5 separate regions of the Homo sapiens genome follow, and regions 1, 2, 4 and 5 are each linked to region 3. The links are contacts of gene promoters, found by promoter capture Hi-C in blood cells and fetal thymus (Javierre and others, 2016). All regions are on one chromosome and are shown on one strand. Each heading gives the region's core, a stretch centred on a gene start or on the middle of the fragment in contact. The rest is flanking DNA. Distances are from core to core; before and after follow the strand shown. Region 1 overlaps MDFIC (MyoD family inhibitor domain containing). Region 2 overlaps LSM8 (LSM8 homolog, U6 small nuclear RNA associated). Region 3 holds the start of THAP5 (THAP domain containing 5). Region 4 overlaps CAPZA2 (capping actin protein of muscle Z-line subunit alpha 2). Region 5 overlaps TES (testin LIM domain protein).

What was found. Contacts are between HindIII fragments. The CHiCAGO score rates a contact against its expected background, and 5 or more counts as called.
Region 1: a fragment that was not itself captured here is called in contact with the fragment with the promoter of THAP5 in region 3 in 1 of 17 cell types (naive CD8 T cells); the score reaches 5.1 in naive CD8 T cells.
Region 2: a contact is called between a fragment that was not itself captured here and the fragment with the promoter of THAP5 in region 3, in 1 of 17 cell types (non-activated CD4 T cells). The highest score is 6.6, in non-activated CD4 T cells.
Region 4: a contact is called between a fragment that was not itself captured here and the fragment with the promoter of THAP5 in region 3, in 1 of 17 cell types (non-activated CD4 T cells). The highest score is 6.3, in non-activated CD4 T cells.
Region 5: a fragment that was not itself captured here is called in contact with the fragment with the promoter of THAP5 in region 3 in 2 of 17 cell types (non-activated CD4 T cells and activated CD4 T cells); the score reaches 5.4 in non-activated CD4 T cells.

The regions. Positions count from the first base shown.
Region 1 is chr7:114,922,896-114,925,595 of GRCh38, reverse strand. It overlaps MDFIC (MyoD family inhibitor domain containing), which reads right to left. Exons shown (of 5, transcript NM_001166345.3): 2 at 2,469-2,669. The coding sequence starts at 2,562. Among named protein-coding and RNA genes, the nearest start is that of MDFIC, 2.2 kb to the right of the region's middle. RefSeq lists a silencer at 2,483-2,622. The HindIII fragment of the contact is 1,116 bases long and covers 728-1,843 here.
Region 2 is chr7:118,189,162-118,191,861 of GRCh38, reverse strand. All of the region lies in intron 3 of LSM8 (LSM8 homolog, U6 small nuclear RNA associated), which reads right to left. Among named protein-coding and RNA genes, the nearest start is that of LSM8, 6.3 kb to the right of the region's middle. RefSeq lists a silencer at 789-1,004. The HindIII fragment of the contact is 5,131 bases long and covers 1-2,700 here.
Region 3 is chr7:108,568,448-108,571,149 of GRCh38, reverse strand. THAP5 (THAP domain containing 5) reads left to right here and starts at 1,444. Exons shown (of 3, transcript NM_001130475.3): 1 at 1,444-1,660. The coding sequence starts at 1,581. DNAJB9 (DnaJ heat shock protein family (Hsp40) member B9) reads right to left here and starts at 1,276. Exons shown (of 3, transcript NM_012328.3): 1 at 1,047-1,276. RefSeq lists enhancers at 1,121-1,848, 1,382-1,861. The HindIII fragment of the contact is 6,219 bases long and covers 1-2,387 here.
Region 4 is chr7:116,871,948-116,874,730 of GRCh38, reverse strand. The region is part of intron 1 of CAPZA2 (capping actin protein of muscle Z-line subunit alpha 2); the gene reads right to left. It also overlaps the pseudogene LOC100418716. Among named protein-coding and RNA genes, the nearest start is that of CAPZA2, 11 kb to the right of the region's middle. The HindIII fragment of the contact is 908 bases long and covers 806-1,713 here.
Region 5 is chr7:116,216,835-116,219,619 of GRCh38, reverse strand. All of the region lies in intron 1 of TES (testin LIM domain protein), which reads right to left. Among named protein-coding and RNA genes, the nearest start is that of TES, 7.7 kb to the right of the region's middle. The HindIII fragment of the contact is 2,110 bases long and covers 468-2,577 here.

The sequences.
Region 1 (2,700 bases), core at 36-2,535, 6.4 Mb before region 3:
CTGGAGCATGTAAGCTTATGTCCCTGCTCTGTAACTATTTTCAAAACACATGGGAAAGATTTGTAATGCTTTTTAATGCTTTCAAAACAATAGAAAGCCTTGCAGAACCACAACAAAAAGGTAGAAACTTTAAGGAGGAAGAGTATGCTCTTAATATGGACAACCTTTCTAATTCTTAATGCTAATACTAGAATGGGCTTCACTACAGGTTTTTAACAAAACACCTAAAAGGATGTAGAATTGAATTTTAGACTTGATGTGGAGTTCAGATTAGAGAATCCCCAAAATTACTTTCAACTGTAATGTTTCATGCCTTTGGTTAACAGTATGGATAGCTCATCACAATATAGTATAGTAATAAATGTAGAGCTTGTAATGTCATTATTTACCTATATATATATATTTAACTTTGCAGGGGTAGACTTGATCATATCCTTCATGTTCCTGAAATAATATTTTTTTCTGTTAATTTGTATTTAAAATTCCACTTTTCTTACTGACTTTAATATAAAGAATTTAAAAATTAGGTTTCTGTTAACTAAGCAGCCATATCCTACCGTAGAATTATTAAGCTATTCTTCAGAAAGGATGATAAAGAATCCAAGGACAGAAGCAAGAGGATAAAAGAACTTGAGAAAAGGCTTAAGAGTAGAGTGGCCTTCGAGCAAAGCTTCTTCACAAATGTCTTTATCAATAAAACCAACCTAACCAAGCTTCCCTTGAAGCTTTCCTCTAACCATTTGCTCCAAGAATTTCTTTCTTTAAATACACCTTATGACATCTGCCTGTTTAAGACATCATATTTTAACAAGATTCTGCAGACTCTCTTTTTAAAAATCAACTTTATATTTAAATTAAACTGATCCCTATTTAAAGAAAGTTTTGGATCAAAGTTAAACTAATAATAATAAAAATGTATAACTATGTTGCTAAAGCTAAGGCAATTTTCAGGTAAAATATAACCCAAGAGTTTCTACACTGATAACGTGTGTTGTACCCAACAAATGTACTTCAGGCCACTCTAGATTTTCGGGTTCTTAAGTTCAGATCACATGACACCATCCAGCATCCTAATGCACAGGTACATTAAGTACCACTGCACATTCTCCCAGATGATTTTAGAAATGCAAACTATTAAAGTTGGATATTGTAGATATTAGCTATTTCCAGGTCAAATTATTTTCCTTGGGTGTTTGATGTTGATTTTTGACATAAGCCTGGTTTAACAATTGTGATTAGCAGCTCAAGTGTGAGCATAAACAGCCCATCAATGAGTCGATATGACTACTAAGGGCATGCCTAATGACAGGAAAATGATTGTGCTGACAATACAAGGTGGAGAACACGGGCTGCTTCTCAGAAAACATATGTTTATCATTCTAGTTCTCTGATTTTCTGCAGTTAATCATTTTTATTTTCTGTTTAGAAAGCTGAGTCACTCATTTAGAGGCAAAAAATAATGATAAATGTAATTCAGTTTAACAGCCCTGGGTGCCAGAACATTTTAATTTAACCAAGATGTTTTCTGCTTTTACCTATTGCAGCTTGAAAGTTAACTCCTTCTCCAATTTTTGCTGCCTTAAAAAAAATCCCTAAGATTCACTACATTAGTACAAGTGGGAAATAAAGCTATCAGTTTATGCCTAAAATCAGGGGTATATGCTAGGTTTTTGAGCACTGGAAAAATTACTTAGTTCTGATATATCAGTGACAGAATTCTTTAGCTCAAAACCATCCTTAGAGTAAAATGCATTAGAAGTTTAAGAACCTTCCTCTCTGTCACCAATGGAAACCTAAAGTATATTGCCTTCAAGAGAAGAAAGGTTCAACTCGTTTAGAAGCTTGTTATGGAAGTTTCCCAGACACAAGAGTATTTTATAGGCTGTGTGTGTTTACACTTTGGAAGAACACAAAGAAGCTAATTCATTCTTGGAAAGTGTTTCTTATAAACCTTGTTTATTTATTTCAAAACAAACCAGTTATTGAAAACAAGCATAAGCCATTCCAAAGCTACTGGTCACAGAAACCTGAATTATCAACCGGGTGGTAGAGGAGCCAACAAGAAACAGAAAGATGAAATGGAGTAAGTGCACGCTTGTTCAGAGAGCTGCGGCAGTCCTGGATCTGCTGAAGAGACCTAGAGGAGAAGCGCTTCAGAACCTACACATTGAGTCTTAGGCCCAAACATGCATATGCTTAAGAAAGAAGCAATCCTGTCATCCTGTTTCTTCGCAACCAAAGGAAGGGGGAGTGGAGGGACCAACGGTTCCCGCCCTCTTACCCGGTTGTTGATCTAGGGCAAGGATCCTGAAGAACTTGCCTGAGTAACGCGAACTGTGCAAAAGTTCTCAACTACGAGTGGGAGCCCCTCCTCACAGCACTCCCCCCACCCCTATCTGTGCACTTGTGAGCAAACTGAAAAATGCAACAATGACAAAGAAGCTTGCCACTTGCAAGCGCGCACTCACCCTGGGCTGTGGAGCCCAGCTGGCCGCCGCCCGCCTCGGCCACGCGCTGCGGCCCCACGGGCCCGGGAGCGAGGGCTTCGCCCGCGCCGGACATGGGCCGCTCCGCCGAGCCCGCGCCGCGCCGCTGCCGCCTAGCTCGCCGCCCGGCAGGGCGCACGGAGGAAGGGCTGTGAGGTGCTGGGTGCAGGGAACTGACTGCTTCTGGCGGAAAAATATACAAAATTAAAAAAAA
Region 2 (2,700 bases), core at 66-2,565, 9.6 Mb before region 3:
GTTTCAAAAATCTTACTAATCAAATCAAAGCACTGAGTACCATTCTTCCAAAAAATAAAACTGAGAGAGCACAGTAAAAAGAATTAAGGTAAAAAGCAAACAACATTGGCGTGAGTCAGTGAACTGCATATTTAAGTCACAAAACTCAAGAAATAATTTGAAGGCACATTATTACAGGAACCAATATTAAAGGACACATTGTACACAGTGATTGTATCATGAATCTTTAAAGGAAACAGACACACAAGGATAGACACAGTAAAAAACCCTCAAACTTCCAAACCATATTTCAATTCAATTCTAGGACTGTATTAAAAATAAATTTCACAAAATCACTCCTAAAATAATTAGCAAGTAAAAATATCAATCATTTGAGTAACTTTGATGAATTAAATCAATGATATAGACAACAGCGATTAGATTGTTTTCCTAAGTTTTCAGTTAAATCCAAAGCCAGTTCTTCATATACAAAAATAATAGTAGGAACAAGTACTTTGGTATCTAACAAATCATTTTTGACGTGATTGGCTCAGGTTAAAAGCTAGAAAATTTTTTCTTGTTCAACACTAACATAGTATCTATAACTTTAAATTCATTAATACCACGCTAGATAACCAACCCATAGCCCTCTAACTGGAAATATTCAATGTTATCACTCAGACCACAAGATGTCTATGAAATATTATTTTTAAAAAGTATTGGTTGGGTTTACATTTGTTTGGTTTTAATGAGAGTAAATTCTTTTTTTTTTTTTTTGAGATAGAGTTTCGCTCTTGTTGCACAGGCTGGAGTGCAGTGGCACGATCTTGACTCACTCCAACCTCTACTTACCAGGTTCAAGCGATTCTCATGCTTCAGCCTCCCGAGTAGCTGGGATTACAGGCGCATGCCACCACACCCGGCTAATTTTTGTATTTTTAGTAGAGACAGGGTTTCACCACGTTGGCTAGGCAGGTCTCGAACCTCTGACCTCTGGTAATTCGCCAGCCTCAGCCTCCCAAAGTGCTGGGACTACAGGTGTGAGCCACTGTGCCCGGCCAAATTCTAAAGACGAATACTAGTAATAAGGGATTTGCCAAATTTTGCTTTAAAGTATATAAAGTCTTAAATCATCTAATAAATGAAAAATATGAAACTCTGGCAGAATGAATTAAGTTTTCTCAAACTAAAGGCCTCAATTCCACTCTTAAATATTCTTAAATTTTAAATGATAATATTCAGTATCATTTAAAATCCCTATGGTAAGCAGGGAAATGCTGATACATTTTTAAAAACCAGCTCTCTGGAAAAAAAGCGGGAGACTGATTTGCTGCATTTACTAATATCCATTGTGCAAACACTCCCACCACGGCCAATTTCAAGCTACTAACAAGACATCAATTAACCAGCTTGTAAAATTCCTTAAAATATAACAATATGCTTTCATGGGCCAGTAGAAGCTGGCTCTAGCACAAGACTTTTTTCACTGAAGTTCAAGAAAAAAAAATTGTTTTAAGTAGGAGAAACCTTAAAATCAATTACTATGCACAGCTCCAATATAAACAGTGTTGTTCTGATCCAGAGACCTGGGCCCTATCTGCTCTGTCTCTCTCTCATTACTTACAGCTCACCTTGTAACTCCACCTAAAAGTCATCTCTAAAATATTTTATAAACTCTTGATTTTTGATTACAGATCAAATTATTTATTCATCTAAAGGTGATGCTAACATAAACAACTTAAATGAGTAAATTATTCCTGCACTTTTTAAGTTATTCCAGGGGACAGTTAGTCCCCTAGAATTTGTTAAATGTTCTAGCTTAAAATTGCTAATGTATCTTTTGCTTCTTTCCAACTATATTTTGATTCAGTGTAGTACTCACTAGAAAACTGATTTGGCATTCTTCTAGCCTCTATAACTATACTAATACTGGCCACATGTAACTATTAAAATTAATTACAATTAAATAAAATTTAAAATTCAGTTCCTCTGTCACATCAGCCACTTTTCTTTTTTTTTTCAAGATGGAGTTTCACTCTTTTTGCCCAGGCTGGAGTGCAAAGGCGCAACCTTGGCTCACTGCAACCTCCATCTACCAGGTTCAAGAAATTCTTCTGCCTCAGCCTCCCAAGTAGCTGGGATTACAGGCATGCACCACCACACCAGGCTAATTTTTCTATTTTAAGGAGAGACGGGGTTTCACTATGCTGGCCAGGCTGGTCTTGAACTCCTGGGCTCAGGTGATCCACCCACCTTGGCCTCTCAAAGTGCTGAGATTATAGGCATGAGCCACGGCACGTGAACCACATTAGCCACTTTTCTTTTTTATTTTTTGACACGGAGTTTTGCTCTTGTTGCCCAGGCTGGAATGCAGTGCTGCGATCTCGGCTCACTGCAACTTCCACCTCCCAGGCGAATTCTCCTGACTCAGCCTCCCGAGTAGCTGGGATTACAGGCTTGCGCCACCACGCCTGGCTAATTTTTATATTTTTAGTAAAGACGCGGTTTCACCACATTGGCCAAGTTGGTCTCGAACTCCTGACCTCAAGTGATCCACCCGCCTCCACCTCCCAAAGTGCTGGGATTACATGCTTGAACCACTGTGCCCGGCCTTTTTTTTTTTGAATTGGTGTCTCAATCTGTCACCCAGGCTGGAGTGCAGTAGGGTGATCTCGGCTCACTGCAACCTCTACCTCCTGGGTTCAAGTGATTCTCCCACCT
Region 3 (2,702 bases), core at 195-2,694:
TACAATAGAATGTTGTCTTTTTCCCAAATGTAAGATCCCAAATGTTTAACCAGGAAGCATGGCTAAATATTGTTTAAAACTCATGATGAACAGAATTTAAGATTTCTGCTAAAGCTGCCAGAAAAATGAACTTTGATAGTTTGTACTGTGGTTAAGGCAGATTCTTACTTTCACAAACTCAGTAGTTAAAATATTTCTTTTACCTTTAAACCATTAAAGAAATGTTAACTTAGAATTCTTGACAATATGTATTCAATGACTTGAGATTCAAAACGAAGGGATGGATCCTGTTTTTTGAATACGGGACCACCAGAGTCCTTAGTAACCTATAATGCCATAATAAGGCTGACGAAAAACACTACGGTTTGTGGAAATTGCCTGGCTTCCTCTCCAGCGGCCTTTCCTGAGAGTAATTAGCAGGCAGGTAGATTACTTATTTCCAGAGAGTTACTCGTAGTCACGGGTACCAAGAATCAAGAACCACTTCTCGGTTTAAGGAACACAACAGTGTGTCCCATGGACGCTGCGTCAACTGCAGGTTGCTCCCTAGTCAAAGGGCGGATCTAAAACTGACAGGGAGGCGCCTCACTGGTTCAGCAGACGTTATTCCACGGTCTCAAGGTGGACATCTAATGATTTTTTTTTAGCAGACTAGTTTTGTATTGTACAGACTTCTCATCCCCAAGACGGCCCCGCCAGCCAGCAGCCCGTGCCTTATTCCCCAGCCTCGGTGGGCGGCTGGGCTAGACCCTCCAACCTTCACCTAAAGGCGACTGGCACTTTCCCTGCCCGCCCAGGCCCCGCCGCAGAAGCTGCCCGAGACCCGGGCTCTAATCCGGCGCCCGTGAAAGCCGGCGCCACAACCCAAAACACGATTCTGTGATGCGGCTGTCTCCGTTCTTCCATTCTCTCGGCCAAAAACATGCAGCCCATTGTCCCTGCGGCGACCGTGGCGGACACCGAGGCCAAGTCAGCTCACAAAGACAGGCCTGGGCTACGGGGACCCTCCGAACTCCCCTCCCCACGACCCCGGCCTCGTCCCTCACCTGCACCCTCCGACTACTGCTGCTCCTCCACAGAGCTGAGGCGCTGGCGACCCTGACGATCGGCTCGGGTCGGCAGCTTGGGCCCGGCCCCTCACCGCGGCCTCCCGGAGCTGGCACGCACCCTAATCTCGGTCGTACACCGACCTAGCGCTCCTCCTTCCCCGCCGGCGCCCAGTCCCCTCTCAGCCAGCTCCTCACAGGCAGGAGGTAGCCGCTGGCGCCACCACCTCAGAAGACCTACACGAAACGCTTCCCCATTGGCTTCTGCCTCCCCACGTGATCCCGGCGCCCTACGCGCACGTGGAAAACTGTTGTTGCTGCTAGGGCTGTGCGCCACTTCCGGCTTCAACCCCCGAAAAGGCGGTGCTTAAACCGGAGGAGGCGGAAGTGAGTCGACAGACGAGGCGGCTTTCCCGGCAGAATGCTAGCGCAGGCGCAGGGGCTCGAGAGGCCTGGACCTGTGGCGCATCCTCAGTGAGGAGGGCCGCCCTGCATCCGTCGCCGGCCCCGGTCTCCAGGGGCCTCACCCGAGTCATGCCCCGCTATTGCGCAGCGATTTGTTGTAAGAACCGCCGGGGACGAAACAATAAAGACCGGAAGCTGAGTTTTTATCCGTAAGTTGTTTCTGGAGCAGAAGCGTCAGCCTCGCCGTGAGGCCTTGGACCTGTGGCCTTTGGGCTTGGGTGTCTCCTGTCCGCTCTGCCAGTGAGTCCTCAGCTCTCCGTACGTGGCCCGTCGCCCGCGGCAAGACGGAGGGAAGGCGCTAGTTCAGTTTAGCTAGCAATGCCCTTCTTGCGCGAGGACTGCTGGCTGGTGGCGAGGCCCAGGAGCCTGTTTGGGTGTTAACAGTTAAAACAGTAAAGTTTGCGCGGGCTTCTGTGGTTTTCAGTCTTTTCCCCACTTCACGTGATCTCATTTCATTGAACAACATTAACCACCATTTAAGATACGTGAAACCTGCGAAGTGGAAAGGTGCACGCAAAGTTAATTTACACCCCCCGCGAGGTAGGTCGCATAGGTATAATTTCATCCCACTTTTCTCCTGAGGAAACTGAGGCCCGGAATGATTAGGTAACCGACCTTGAAAGTTTAGTGTCAGAGCCAGAATTATAAACTAGTCTTCTGCTTAGGGCTGTAGATACTCTGCGGAGAACAAGGTTTTATTCTGTTACTCTGAATTACTAGAGCCACGATATATTTCCATCAAACTACTGAAGCACTGATTTTTATTCAGAAGTACAGACAAGCAGTGTCGTATAATAATTAGGGGTCCAGGCTTCAATGCTAGATCCTGGTTCCACTATTCTGTAGCTTAATGACCTCTTGGAAAGTATTTAAGCTTTGGTGTCTCACATATCTCATCTGTAACATGGAGATGTTAATAGTACTCACATGATTAATAACACATGAAAAGCAACATATTTAAAATACTGCATTTCCATTTTTTCTTGTATTTAAAAACAATTCATTTAGATCTAACCTGGTTCAGATTTTCAGCAGTTGTTTTGTGCTCATTTTACTTTAGACCTGAAGGACTTATTCATTAATGATTCGGCTGCTTTCCAGTATTTTAATTAATGGAAAAAAAATTGATAACCCCACCAGGCGCGGTGGCTCACGCCTGTAATCCCAGCACTTTGGGAGGCTGAGGCGGGC
Region 4 (2,783 bases), core at 10-2,509, 8.3 Mb before region 3:
CAAGTAAAAGCACAGTTCACTTTGATAAACCCCACAGGAAACTGTCTTCTGCTTTCCACTATGCACTACTTTCTTTTTGTCAAGTGTCAGGAGATGCTGCTTAGGATCAGAAGTGTCTCTGACTGCAGTGAAAAACACCTTCTGCTGATGCTTGGATATTGCTTGCTATACATTGCACTTGACGTGCTGCTGGCAAAGACAGAGACACTGATGCCCTCAGATTGTATACAACGTGCCTACATCTTGAATCTAAAAAGAAAAATCAGCTTCTCCACATTCTTTCTAGTATGATCAAGAGGCCAGATAAAGAGCCAAGGCAAGTGATACTAACTGGTGTTACGGCATTCACACATCATGTCGGACCAACACATGCAGAAGCCGAACATTTACCACAGTGATGGGAAGAGGTGAGTCACAAAGACCCAAAAAGGACACTACTTGTAGCTAAATCCTGTGGAGTAGTGGTGCCTTACTTTCCTCAAGAAGTTCCTAACTCCCTGGTCCTCCTTAAATGGAAGGTAAAGCATATTTGATATGAGAAGCTGTGATCAAAAGCCTTGGTATCATTATGGGATACCCTGATGAACCAGGCAAGTATCAGCAGGTTTTTGAATTGTTGCCTTTGGCCTTGAGTGATATCTCAGAAAAAGTAGTGAGTGCAAAACATCTAGTACTTTTAATGGCCTATGATACTTGGAATATGGAATTTGGAAATGTACAATCTTACACCTACATTGCTGAATAAGACTGAAAAACTTATCAGGGAAAGAGAACAAAGGGAAGGAGGGCTGGATGAACATAAGCTTCACATGTATCTTTCTGCCTTGCAATCCTTGACTGTGTCACTCTTTGCATTAATGGTACAGAATGTACCTTTCTCAAGCAAAGACAAGCTCCATGGTGAAGTACCACAGGTGGAAGTGACTGGGTTCCCTCAGCCTATGTCACCTCTTCAAGATGTGTTTATTACTGGAAGTCAGAAGCAATTGGTAGTGCTACTTCAGTTTTATAATTACCATCTAGAACATGAGGGTACAACGTGAGAGTTTACTGTGGGTTGTCAATCATTACCACAATTTACAGAAATAGATGGCAAAATTAATGTTACTTCACCTGCTTATGTCCATGAATTCTCCAGATTGTTCTAGTGCCTTTGCTGAACATTTGGCAACATGTTTTCAAACACTAAGGTAAAACTTGAGTTCCAGGAGATTTTAAAACTGTCTGAAGAAAACAATTCCTTAACAGGAAATAGAGTCCTCACCAAAGCAGCTATAAAAATGGTAAACTAACAAAAATTAAAAAAAATTTTTTTAAACCTTAAGCAAGGTTTAAAGGAGATGAAAGTATAAAAAGCAGACAATGTATGTGCATGGTAGCACACAGACATACATGTACACACATACACACCACCAAAAAACAACAACAAAAAACAAAACCCCCAAACAGCCATCTAGAGCCATTAAATTTAGAAGCAAAGGACCCTGCACTCTCCAGCAGTCCAAAGGTACACTACTATGGGAAATAGCTATACTAAAAATGACTCACCGTTTAGCTTAAATTCAAATTTACTGAGGCATCAGTATTTTATCTGAGAATCCTACCTAGAGCCCCTATAATTTCCACATGGTATGGGCCGCCATGATCAAGGAAGGAGACATTAGGGTAGGAATTTTTCAGATATGAACGGCAGTCAGACTCACCTGGAAAGCTTGGAAAAAATACAGATTCCCACCCTCTATTCCAGACCCAGTGAATCTATCTCCAGAGAATGGGGACCTAGAAATCTATGTTTTAGAAAATCTCTCCACGTGATTCTGAAAGGTGACCAGATATTGCACCCATGCCCTAAGGGACTTCAGATGTAAAATTTGAAGTGTCTAGTCTTCTTGAGAAATGACTTATAGGTTTTACTTGATTCTCAAGAAAATGTAACACCAAAAAGGGTCACTGCTTTAGACACTGGTAGTAAAATTAAAGGAGCCACTATGCACTTTTCCACTTCAACTAAAAGAATTATTTGAAGTTGTCTTCCACAGCTCTCTAAAAAATGGCTATGTCTTTTGAGAATTAGAGGTAAAACCGGAGGAAAAAACCACTTTTTTGAACTTTATGACATTTAAATAGTTTATGACCAAGTGATCACTATCACATGTCTGTGTGTCAGGTGAATTTATCTTAATATGGGTAAACTTAAGAGTGGTAATTTGTTTTAATAAGTTTTCCTCTAAATTTTTTTCCTTTATAATTATCATTTTGATTGGTAATTAAAAACAGGGCCCACAGCACTTAACCTGAAACTGGGTCATCTAAAGAACTCAACATTGATTCTTCTTTAAATATGTTTTTACCATTTATTTAAAATATGAAGAAACCCATGAATCCAAAGTAGGCATTATCATCAACTAAAAGAAAGTAAGTTATGTAAACTATTCTTTATCTTACGTTTTCAATTTCCTTTTCCCTTCTGAATCATTTCCCTTATACACCCTAGAATGTTCTCTTACAAAAAAAAAGTATTCTTAAAATGAAATAGCAGGAAAAAACAAAGTAGTAATACATATTTTTCTCTTTTGTTTCACTACCAATTTTTTTCAAGAATAATTTGTACTTACTGTCTCCACTCCTCATCCTTTAGTCAACATTTATTGAGCCCCTAATACAGTGATACAGTGAGACTCAATCCTAGTTGCACATTCAGATCACCTGGGAAGCTTTAAAACAACAACAACAACAACAACAAAAAGGAATTACAGACACTCCAGGCCTCACCCACAAGAGGA
Region 5 (2,785 bases), core at 273-2,772, 7.6 Mb before region 3:
ATGTGACTGCTTTGGCATAAGAAGAGGCTTAAAAGGTGCTCCTGCAGTTGGGCATGACCTTTACTGTTGGCTTCACTGATCTAAGAAGGATGAAAACCTGGCAACATTGTGGTCCCAGTCCACAGCTCAGAGTCCAGACCAGCCTAAATGAGCTAGACTCTACTGTGAAATTTCCTCCTCTCTCTCAATAGATGACACAATGTATTAAATAATCATCACAGTTAAGGGAGATCAGAAACTCTTCAGCTGTGGGCTAGGGTCTTATACTAGCTCAGTGACATACCTCTTTAATTCAAACCTGTACTGTGGAAAAATTACAAATTACTGCAGCTCATCTACTTTAGCTTTATTTTAGAAGAGACAAAACTGAAAATGTCAAGGGTGGTTTTACTGACTTTTCACAGCCAGGTACCTTTGGTTCATGCTATTTCCTCTTTATGGAATGCTTTCTTTGCCTAATGAAAGCTTCTTTATTCTATAGGAGGTGTTTCCTTGATAAAATAATCGCAACCCACACAATTAAAGTTAGTTACTTCTGCTTCTAAGACTTCATAACAGTTGTTTGTATTTCTATTATTGCTGTGCTACTCAAAGTGGCAGTTCACAAAGTGTAAGTCACTAGTCTGTGATGAGATAGGCAGAGAAACTGACAGTAGGCAATTAGGAACTACTATATACTTAAAGTAATTTTGTGTCTCTTGCATTTAATAATTTTTTTAATTGGCCCTGTATTTGTCTTTTAAGTAATAAATTTTTATTGTGTTTTTAAAAATATCAACCAATGATTAATTTTTGTTTATAAAAAGGTTCCTCATCCCAGATAAGAAATTGTATTATAGCACTTATGTCATTCTATCCAGCACTGTAGTTAACTTACACATCTGTTTTGCTCACTCATCTTCCTTCCTTTTTTAAAAAAAAATCTATCAAAGGTGACATCGGTATTTTGCTCAAGAGGTGATACTGATAGATATGGAGTTTAGAGTCTGTAGTTTTAAATCTAAACTGCACTTTTAATATTCTCTACGAAAAACAAAGGGTAATTTTTTTAACCCCCAGTTATTTTTATTGTAGGCCAGTATCTCATAAAGGAAAAATCAGATCCTTGATCCTTACTTTGTGACTCATTCTGTTAAGACTGTCACGTTGTGGTCATATAAAAACAAAAATCCACCTAACATCTACATGGTCATTTTTCAATGAAACATGATATCACTTTATCATCAAACAAAGCAAGGGAAAAGTTCATTGTGGCTAGAGATGCATTAATGGACTCCTTATCAAGGCATTTCTGCTGGGCTGAATGCCATCTTTTCTGCTGGGCTCGCTGCTCAGATAAGCTATGCAATGAACACCCTGAAACTCCTGTTTACAGCTTTTCACAGTGGCCAGAATGTCACAATGATAAACACAAGCTGAATCACTCATGGTTTGAGGATAATTCAGCATTTCAGATTAAGTATATTTACAGAGTAGTAACTTTGCTGTCATTCAGCAGATGAGATCTCAGCAATCCCCACTAGGCTGGCTTCTAATAACGCTCTCCCACTTTAAGCCATGCTCAAATCTGAGCCGACTCCCCACCATTCTAACAGACTAAGGAACAGAGAAATTGGCAATTCTAAACTATGCTTTTTTACTTTTTTGAATTTGACCAAAATAAATACAGTGATACTTAGAAAATTATAGTCATGCATATCCTTATCGCTCTAATTCCCCATTATCTAACTAGAATGTTAGGTAGACAGGGCACTTAGAACTGAAAATTGACAAAACCATGCTAAATGGCAGCTCTTTTGTAGGAGAGTCAAAGATTGTAGTTGGGCAGTTGAAAAGCATAACCTCTAAATTTAATCCTCTAATAGTGCTTGAGGCAAATTTTAAACATGGATATTTACTCAAAGAACAGTAGTGAAGTTATCAATTACCAAATTATTTTTCTTTAAAATCCTGAAAATCTGCAGTTTTGCAATGTTTTTGATTAGTCTTTTGTTTCCTTATCTTCCTCTCCTAGAAAAAGTTGATTTCATAATTAATAATATAATTTCTCTGGATACCACCACCTTGTAAAAAGTAAAATAATTTCCTGTATATTAATGATTTAATAAACAATTCTTTTAAAATCATAATTTTGGTTACCATGGCAGTAGTTACCAAACAAAAATTAGCTATGACTGCAAACAGGAAATCCAAGAATGACTCTTTTGTAAGGCATTTGTAGGCAGGGAGAAGACTTATAGTTTGTGTATATTATAGGTGTAAGTCTATTTGTATAGCTTTATGCATTCATAATCTTTTTCACATTCTAATACATAAAAGCTGCTTTCTCATTTTCCCATCTTTTACATTTGCTATTACTTAAGACAAATGAAATAAGAATCCCTAATTACAAAGTTTGCAAAACCAAGAATCAAGCCCAGGGATCACCATCAAAATTGCTCACTGTCTGTGTTAGAAACATAGCGTACTGCTAACCTATCAAGAGTTCACTGACGGGTATAATTCCAGTTGTGCTTACTTTCAATATTTACATTGCTCTATCAACACTTGCAATAGCATAATTCTATGATACAAGCTTAAGTTCAGTGTCATTCTTGTTCACAACTATAACCCCAGAGTCTAGAACAGTGCATGGTACGTAAAAAAGCACTCATATAGTTTTTTTTTAATCTTTTAAAATTATTTTAACAGCCTTATTTTGAGAGAGATAACTTTTAAAGAAAATAAATGTTCCATTATTTTTCATTTTCCCATAATTAAATACCAAGGTAAGTAATACATCACT